Regions from separate parts of the Homo sapiens genome. Here region 2 is linked to region 1. Evidence: promoter capture Hi-C in human tissues and cell types (Jung and others, 2019). All regions are on one chromosome and are shown on one strand. The core of a region is centred on a gene start or on the middle of the fragment in contact, and the rest is flanking DNA. Distances in the headings are between cores, read along the strand shown. Region 1 holds the start of AMZ1 (archaelysin family metallopeptidase 1). Region 2 overlaps MAD1L1 (mitotic arrest deficient 1 like 1).

Region 1 (4,674 bases), core at 181-2,680:
TAAGTGACTTGGCCCTGGCGACACAGCTGGGGGCCAGCGGGGCCTGGTTTCAAAGCCACGCTTCACACTGGAACCCCAGCTGCTCCTGGAGCAGGGATGTTCTGACGGGGACAGGGGGTAGGACGTCTCCTCTCCCAGAGCACCCGAGTTCCAGCCCTGCTGCTATTAATACCATGGGTAAACTCAGACGCTTCTCCTTCCTCCTCCCCTTGCCTTTTTTTGTCCAAAGACTGGAAAAGAGCACGTCCGCATCCCCCCCCCAGGGAGGTTCTGCCGCTCTAAGCAACAAGGGCCGCCAGACTGGCCCAGTAACCAGGTATCCAAGGTCAGGCTGCCCTAAACCGCACAGCTCCGGGCACTCATGCTCCCCCATCTGACCACGCAGATGCCTGGCCTTTGGGCAAGAAACCATGCTCTGATTCTCGCTATTCTGAATGCGCTTTGCAAAACCTCCCAGCAGCTGCATCGAGCTATTCATTAGCTGACAGCGGAGACCTTCAGGCAGAACCAGACGGACGGATGGTTTTGGGGGTTTCTCACCTCTCAGTTTCCATTCGCTAGGAGGGAAAACCGGGGGCTTAGACCGCAGGGGTAGTGGCCTCCGGGCCAGACTCTTGGCTTCCTGTTCTCTCTCCTCACCTGCGAACCCCAAACTCCTCTGCCAAGTGTTTCCCTCCCGTGATGGGGGCAGAAAGGACCCAGGTCCCTGCCCTCCCCTGTCCTTTGTAAAGTTTGCCATTTCTCTGTCACCCCTCCCTTGCTTTTCTGGTTTTGAGACCTGTCTTACATCCCTGCAGGGATCATATCCACAGCCTTCTCCCTCAGTCTCCTGGGGGAGGAAGCCTTCTCCCTCCCCGGCTCATACACAGGCTGCGGGGAGCCCTGGGCACGACGAGATTCTCGGCGCCCTGGAGGTTCCCCGGGGACGTCCCGCACCCACCTGGCTCGCCCCAGCCCGGAAACGCCTTCTTTCGGGCGCTTGGCCCTGGATTCCCGACCCGTCCCCAGTTTGCTCCCATCGGGAAGCGCGCAGGTCGCCCTGGCCTGGGAGAGGATGGCGGGGAGGGGGCGCGTGGCCCTTCCCTGGCCCGGCCTTCCCTCTGCAGGACCTGCCGGGGCTGTGCGGACCCCGGCGCGGCGCTGCACCAAACCCTCGCCAAGTGCGCCCTTCGCGTCTCCGCGGTCCCCGCGCGCCCGTAGCCGCCGCCGCCCGGGCGCCCTCGGGACTTGGTGCGCGGGCCGGGCTGGACCCGGAGCTGCCCCTACCCACCCGCCCCGGCACGGAGGTCCCTCTCGGTCCCTGCGCCCCCGAGTCTTCCCCGCGCGCCCCCCTACCTCGCAGTCCCGCGCCCGCCGGAGCCGGCAGAGGCCGCGCCGGGCACCGAGCCCCGGGCAGCAGCGTGGGCAGCTCGGCCTGGGCCGGGAGGATCGGGAGGTCCCGGTGACGTCGGCGCGCGGGGCAGGGACCGAGGCGGGCGGGACTGGGGCCGGTGTGGGGCCGCGGGCAGGACAGGAGGGCCACACCCCTCCCGGCGCTCAGCGTCCTGCCCCACTCCCTCCAGCTGCCCGCGGTGGAGCTCACGTGGGACCCTCCAGCCTCCCAGAAACACCCGGGCAGGGGGGCCCCAGAGCCTAAAGCCAAACAGGTGAGGGAGGTCAGTCAGCCCGGGCCAGTTCGTGCCTCCCCAGGTGAGAGGAGTAAACCCGGCTACTCTGCAAGGCGCCAGGTGAAGAGGTGAACCAGGCCACCAGTTAAGGCCCCAGGTGAGAGGGGTGAACCAGCGCCACGAGGTGAGGAAGGGGAACCAGGCCACCAGGAGAGGCCCCAGGTGAGAGGGGTGAACCAGGCTATCAGGCAAGGCGCCAGGTGAGGGGGTGAACGAGGCCACCAGGTGAGGAGGTGAACCAGGCTTATCAGCGAAGCCCCAGGTGAGAGGGGTGAACCAGGCCCCTAGGTTAGCCCTACAGTCAGTGGCCCTGAGGACGGGCGCCCTGCCCTACCCTGGCCAGCTGTGAGTGCAGCCCTGGCCCTGTGCCAGCCACCAGGAGATGGAAAGGACTCTAAGTGCGGAAGGATGCCGTGAAGGCCGGCATGACGGCTCCAGACAGAGCCCAGAGGCCTTTTCCATAAACTGCCCTTTTCCTCTCTGCAAACCCTCCCAGCACCAGCTTCCCTCGGGCAGCCTCCCACCAGCTCTGCTTCACCGTGCAGAAATGCCCCCCACGCCCTCAGCAGCGCCCCACAGATGGCTGAGGGATTCGTCACCATCGTCCCACACCAGTGCAAAGAATTTTTTTTTTTTTTTAGATGGAGTCTCGCTCTGTCGCCCAGGCTGGAGTGTAATGGTGCAATCTGGGCTCACTGCAACCTCCACCTCCGGGGTTCAAGTCATTCTTCTGCCTCAGCCGCCTGAGTAGTGGGGATTATAGGTACCCATCATTGTGTCCAGCTAATTTTTGTATTTTTAATAGAGATGGGGTTTCACCTTCTTGGCCAGGCTGGTATCAAACTCTTGACCTCATGATACACCCGCCTCAGCCTCTCAAAGTGCTGGGAGTACAGGCGTGAGCCACCACACCCAGCCTCAAAGAATTTTTTTAAGCCTTAAGAAATAACACGGCTGGGCGTGGTGGCTCATGCCTGTAATCCCAGCACTTTGGGAGGCTGAGGCAGACAGATCACAAGGTCAGGAGTTCAAGACCGGCCTGGCCAGTATGGTCAAACCCCGTCTCTATTAAAAATAAAAAAATTAGCTGGGCGTGGTGGCTGGTGCCTATAGTCCCAGCTACTCGGGAGGCTGAAGCAGGAGAATCACTTGAACCCGGGAGGCGGAGGTTGCAGTGAGCCGAGATTATGCCACTGCACTCCAGCCTGGGTGACAAAGCAAGACTTTGTTTCAAAAAAAAAAGAGAGAGAGAGAAAAACAACACAACACTAGGTGTCCGGTGTGCAAAATTTGGAAAATTATGAAAAATAAAAACAAAAAGAAGACCCCATAAGCCAACTGTGTAGAGGTAACCTCTCTCACCTTCTTGTCAGACATCCTTCTGATCGCCTTCTCCTCCACATTGAAATGTATTTTTAAAAAGTTTTTTTTGAGACAGGATCTTGCTCTATTGCCCAAGCTAGAATGCACTGGTATAAACGCGAGTCACTGTAGCCTCGACCTCCTAGACTCCAGCAATCCTCCTCCCTCAGCCTCCTGAGTAGCTGAGACTACAGGTACGTGCCATCACACCTGGCTAATTTTGAAACTTTTATGTAGAGATGGGATCTCGCTATGTTGCTCAAGCTGGTCTCAAACTCCTGGGCTCAAACAACCCTCCCAGCTCGGCCTCCCAAAATGTTGAGATCACAGGTATGAGCCACCGTGCCCAGCCTAAATACATATTTTAAGGGATTCACGTCACATACTGCGTTCTGCAGGCGGCCCGTGACTTCACACTCATCAATAGCCAAAAGTCCGTCTCCACACCCTGATGGTCTGCGCTGGACTCCGTGTCATGGATCTGTCACCTGCTTTGGGATATTTTGGTTTCTCCTGGTGTCTCACTAGCATATATCACTGTGATAGACGATCTTGTTTCCACAGATCTTTGTACAGGTATCTGGTCCCCCTCACCTTGGGATAAATTCCTACAAATAGATTGTGACTCAGAAAGCTGCACTTCTTCACACGTGTTGCCGCAGGGATTTTCCAGGTTATTTCTGTTGGGGATGGAGAACCCAGAACCTGAGAAAAGATGAATGTTCTTTTTTTTTTTTTTTTTTTTTTCTTGAGACGGAGTCTCGCTCTGTCACTCAGGCTGGAGTGCAGTGGCGTGATCTCGGCTCACTGCAAGCTCCACCTCCCGGGTTCACACCATTCTCCTGCCTCAGCCTCCTAAGTAGCTGGGACTACAGGCGCCTGCCATCATGCCTAGCTAATTTTTGTGTTTTTAGTAGAGATGGGGTTTCACCATGTTGGCCAGGATGGTCTCGATCTCCTGACCTCGTGATCCGCCTGCCACGGCCTCCCAAAGTGCTGGGATTACAGGCATGAGCCACCGCACCCGGCCTTTTTTTTTTTTTGAGACGGAGTCTCACTCTGTTGCCCAGAGCTGGAGTACAAGTGGCGCGATCTCGGCTCACTGCAAACTCCACTTCCTGGGTTCAAGCGATTCTCCTGCCTCAGCCACCCAAGTAGCTGCGATTACAGGTGCCCGTCACCTCGCCCGGCTAATTTTTGTATTTTTAGGAAGGACAGGGCTTCACCCTGTTGGCCAGGCTGGTCTCGAACTCCTGACTTCAAGTGATCCACCCGCCTTGGCCTCCCAAATTGCTGGGATTACAGGCGTGAGCCACCGAGCCTGGCCTGAATGTTCTGTCCTAAAGCTGCTTATTACAAAGAAGTTGTGGAATATCCTCCCCCCAACCCCCACGCCCCTCCCTGAATAGCCACCGGAAAGGAAATTATGCATCGAGGCCGGGCGCGGCGGCTCAACCTGTAATCCCAGCACTTTGGGAGGCCGAGGCGGGCGGATCACGAGGTCAGAAGATCAAGACCATCCTGGCTAACACAGTGAAACTCCATCTTTACTAAAGATACAAAAAATTAGCCGGGCGTGGTGGCGGGCGCCTGTAGTCCCAGCTACTCAGGAGGCTGAGGCAGGAGAATGGCGTGAACCTGGGAG
Region 2 (4,654 bases), core at 1,403-3,902, 690 kb after region 1:
GCTGTGCAGCCCTGGGCTCCAGGTTGCCCCTTCTCTGTGTGACCCAGAGCCCTCAGTGTCATGGCTTCTTCCCGGGGGTTACAGGTGCATGTTCCTGTCTGAAGGGGGTCTCTGGGCTGCGGGACAGCCTGACTCCCTTTTCATTTTATGGTGGAGGAACCTGAGCGGGAGCTCGCCCTGAGCTGGGATGGCTGGAGTCACCCAGGTCTGGCTCTGAGGCCCCTCCCACCCAGTTCCCTGTGACTGGCTCGGCAGTGGGTGCTGTCTGGGGAAGGGGCTCCCTTGTCCCTGGAAAGGCTGGGGCCTAGGTGGTCTGCACCCTCAGGGCTTGTGTGGAGAAGCCACATTCTAGGCAGGGCTGACTGTGTCACTCACGCCTTCTGTCCACAGTGGTCTGGGACATGGCCCTAGTGCCCGTCCCGTCTCCCAGCCTGCAGCTCCTTTACCTGCTATTTTCCAACCCAAAGTCATTTTGTTATTTAGGAAATGAGAAAAGAGAGAAAAAAGAAAAATTTAAATCTTTAGTTAATTGCCAATGACAAGACAAAGGCACTCTGACTTTCTTATTATTAATTAGCAAACCCGTACTAATTAGTAAGCATAAGTACAATTCATGTTTTTTTCTTTAAATGCAATTAATATCGCAAGGAGAGATTTCCTGGGCCATCGTCGTATCATTAGCGAACCCCCCTAATTAGCTAGGCCCGCAGTGGCTGGAGATGGGAGTCTTTTGATTACAGCTCTAAAATATCCTCTAATATTTTATAGACTTTGGGGAGTGAGGAGTGAAGCTTTATTTTCCGATTCAGAGGGAATTACGCCGCTCTCAGCTCTAAAATATCCTCTAATATTTTATAGACTTTGGGGAGTGAGGAGTGAAGCTTTATTTTCCGATTCAGAGGGAATTACGCCGCTCTCAGCTCTGATTAAGCAGCATCTTCCTTGATTGCTGATTTCCCTTTGTGGCCCCTCTGTGCCTGCTCCTTGCTCCCAGGGGCACCCTGTGCCAAGTCTGCCTCACCAAGGGCCGTGGCTACAGCAGCACTGAGGCCCGGACAGGCTGCTTCCCGTCCCCCACCCTTCTTTGTCCATCTCTGAAATGGGAAGGGTGTCGAGGCCCACTCTGAGTCGGGCCTAGCGGCAGGTGCTTTACAGACAGATTCTGAAATCTGGCGACCGTGAGCAGGGCAGGTCCCGTGGGCCCATGAAGAAGCTCTAGGCTCTCTGGGGTCTCCTGTGCAGGAGCCTGTGGTCCGTGTGGCTCTCAGAGCCTCTGGCTTCTCATGGGAGGCTGAGGACACCGGCGGAGCTTCCCTGAAGAGACTCCCAGTGAGGCATGTGTAGACCCGGGGGACCCTGCCCGCCCAGCAGCCGTGTGTAGACCCGGGGGGACCCTGCCCGCCCAGCAGCCGTGTGTAGACCCGGGGGGACCCTGCCCGCCCAGGAGCCGTGTGTAGACCCGGGGGGACCCTGCCCGCCCAGGAGCCGTGTGTAGACCCGGGGGGACCCTGCCCGCCCAGCAGCCGTGTGTAGACCCGGGGGACCCTGCATGCCCAGGAGCTGTGTGTAGACCGGCAGGGCCCGGCACACACGGGAGGCGTGGCTGGTGCCTCTATCTTCACTGGTGCTGCTACTGAAGATGGACCAGGCAGCTGTGAGCCCCTCGTCAGTGCTGGTCCTCATGGCTGTGCCCAGCCCGGAATCTGTCTGGTCACATCCAGCAGCATGGCCAGTGCCTGCAGATGAATGATCATGAGAGCCTCCTGGTGTGGTAACTGACAGTACCTCATTTCACCTTCCGGACCCATCCTGCTCCACGACGAAGTGCTACTTCTGACTGGAGTGCTTCGTGCTTGGCATGCTGGAGGGGCTTGCTGCTGGCACCGGGGTTCTGTATGGCTGGTGGCACCGGGGTTCTGTATGGCTGCTGGCAGCCTCCTGGTCCCTGGAAACCTGTTCAGTTCACGCTGCACCAGCATGTATGTCCCCGCGCGCGCTGGTGTGCAGGTGTCCTGAGCTTGGAGAGGCTCTTTGGGGCCAGGGATGTGTCTGGGGCAGGTCTGGGGAATGGCTCAAAGTCTGAGACTGTGTCCTTAGCTCACTCTCCTCCTCTCCAGCCCTGGAGGCGGCCTCTCCTGGGCCCCCCGCCTGGGGCTCCTGCGCCCGCCCTTCCATCCCACACAACTGGTCCCTTCCCTCAGCCACACCTGTCACCTCTCTTGCTGTGTGGCCACAGGCAGGTGCTTCACTGCCTGGTCCTCAGGGTGGAGAGAGGAAGCGGGGAGCCTCCCTGGAGTCTCACAAAGCTAAGTGAGTTCGTGTGCTGGGAAGATCCAGGCTGTTCTGGGAAGTGATTCTGGGTGAGAACAGGGGCCTGATCTTCCTCAGCAGCCCCGGGGCTGGTTCCAGGCTCGCTGCCCGTTCACCAGCTCAGGTTTCCCTGCGTCCAGCCTCATCCTCAGTGCGTGCCCCGAGGTGCCCCCCGAGGCTTCTCCACAGAGTGGAAGGAATCGTGCTGGCCACAGCAGGTGTCACATGGAGCAACCTTTGCTTTAAATGCCTCTTGCATTGGAGGGAAGTTGTCTAATTCAGCAAGCATTTGTTGAGTGCCTCTTCTAGGCTGTTGTCTGAGGGAACAGAGACCCTGTGGCTGCGCATCTGTCTATTCAGCTGCCCTAACAGGAACACCGCAGACTGGGCTGCTTAAAGTAGCAGATGTTGGCCGGGCGTGGTGGCTTACGCCTGTAATCCCAGCACTTTGGGAAGCTGGGGTGGGTGGAAATCTTGAGCCCAGGAGTTCGAGACTGGCCTGGGCAACAGAGTGAGACCTCGTCTCTGTTTAAAAAAATAAAATAAAACAAAACCCTTGCAGACATTTGTTGCTCACGGTTCTGCAGGCTGGAAGTCCAGGATCAGGAACTGGCCGGTCTGGTGTTTGCTGAGGCTTCCTGGTTCCAGATGGCGCCCTCTCACTGTGTCCTCACACGGTGGGAGGGGCGAGGGAGCTCTGGGGTCCCTTTTATGAGGGTGCTAATCCCCCCCCCGAGGCTCCGCCCGGTGGCCTCCTCACCTCCCCGGGCTCCCTCCTAGGATTTCAGCATGAGAGCGGGAGCACACAGTCCATGGCATGGGCCCACCTCCTTCCTGCTGTGTGAGACCCGGTGGGCGCTCACTGCCCTGCCCAGTCCTCCTACTGGGGGGTCTCTGCCTGGTCCCTCAGTGCCCGATGGGCCTGCCCTGCCTACGGTGATGTCCCCACCCTCTGAGCACATCTTCTCACGCCCTTCCAAGCAATCCCTGTGCTGCTCCCCCTCTGAGGATGTCTTTTCAGTTCAGCGGAGCCTCAGGCCCCCTGGGAATTGAGCTGGACCCGTGCTGCTGCCCCTGCATCGCAGACACGCTCTTCCCTCCCTGCCTTCACGGGGCCTGCACCTTCACCATCACCGCCACCATCGTCCCTGTGCTGCCCTGGGTGTGGCGGTGGCACGTGCAAAGCCAGTGTGTGCTGTTGCTCACCATGTCATGAGTACACACTTGTTGTTTACACAGATTATCCCCCTGTGATCCTGGCAGCAAACCCACAAGCTGGTTGTGGCCCCAGATACTCAGACGAGGAACAGGGGCAGCCAGGATTAGTGACCTGCCCGTGTTGGCACCGGCAGTGGTGGAGAGTGCTCCAGGGTTCACACCCAGGCAGGCTGACCCCAGACCCTGTGGCCAGGGCAGTTGCAGGGGCTTCCTCATATCAGGCTGTCTGTGAAATCCACCAGGACAGGACCCAGGGCTTTCTGGGGCTCCAGCGTTAGCCCAGGGCCAGGCATTCAGCTGGGGAGTTTAAAGCATCTGCCGAGTGCTGAGTGGGGACAGGTGGGAGGAGGATGCTTCATCTTCCCTCTGTCCCCTTTCCCAGTGTGAGGACCCAGCCTTTTCAGTTTTTACCAGTTTGCAAAGATCTTATGAGAAGATGCTGGTGATTTAATGTCGTTACCTTGTAAGGATCATCTGCATTTTAGAAAAAGTAGCTGAGAAGATGGTTTCTTCGCCCAGAAAATAGATTTCTCAGGCATAATGTCTGAGCCTTGGTTGTAGAGGATTTGGATCCCTGCTTCTCCTCCAAAAAACAGAAGAAAATCTCAGTGCAGAGGGAAGGCGTAAGCTTGTTTTCTATCTGGGCCAGTGCCACAGTGTGTGAGCTAGCAGAGCCTCAGAGTGTGTCTGATACGTCGTGACCTTTGTGTTATTTTCTCTTTCAGAATGATCTTAGATATTCTCCAATGTTTTTTCCGGTAAACTTTAGAGGGAGCTTGCCAAGGTTCCTGCCAGTCCTCTTGCATTGCCTTGGTCTGCGGACTGACATGGGAAGGCAAGCTGGTTGCATTGTGGCTCCCCCAGAAGCCCTGTGCCCTCCCTGCACTGTGGGTCCTGCCCACTGCTTACTAGGGTTATTCCTGGGTGGTTTAGAATCTCAGTCACCTGCATGTCACTGCTGTCTGCACACTTGCCATATGACCCATGGGGGCATCTTTTGGGCGTTGGGGGCGGGGATGAGGAGAAGGTGGGCACTTCAGACTCAGAGCAGTGAAGTCCCCCGTGCATTCCACTCCACGAAACTTAGATCGAGTCTATAATAACCACGAGAAAGGAAATCGGTTCA

Evidence for each region. The method cuts DNA at HindIII sites, captures the fragments that hold promoters and counts their contacts. A contact is called where the count stands out against the background at its distance.
Region 2: a contact is called between a fragment that was not itself captured here and the fragment with the promoter of AMZ1 in region 1, in 1 of the 25 tissues and cell types used here (spleen).

What each region holds. Positions count from the first base shown.
Region 1 is chr7:2,684,958-2,689,631 of GRCh38, reverse strand. It overlaps AMZ1 (archaelysin family metallopeptidase 1), which reads right to left and starts at 1,430. Exons shown (of 7, transcript NM_001384743.1): 1 at 1,336-1,430. RefSeq lists an enhancer at 462-731. The HindIII fragment of the contact is 48,320 bases long and covers 1-4,674 here.
Region 2 is chr7:1,993,046-1,997,699 of GRCh38, reverse strand. The region is part of intron 14 of MAD1L1 (mitotic arrest deficient 1 like 1); the gene reads left to right. Among named protein-coding and RNA genes, the nearest start is that of SNORA114, 94 kb to the left of the region's middle. The HindIII fragment of the contact is 3,632 bases long and covers 837-4,468 here.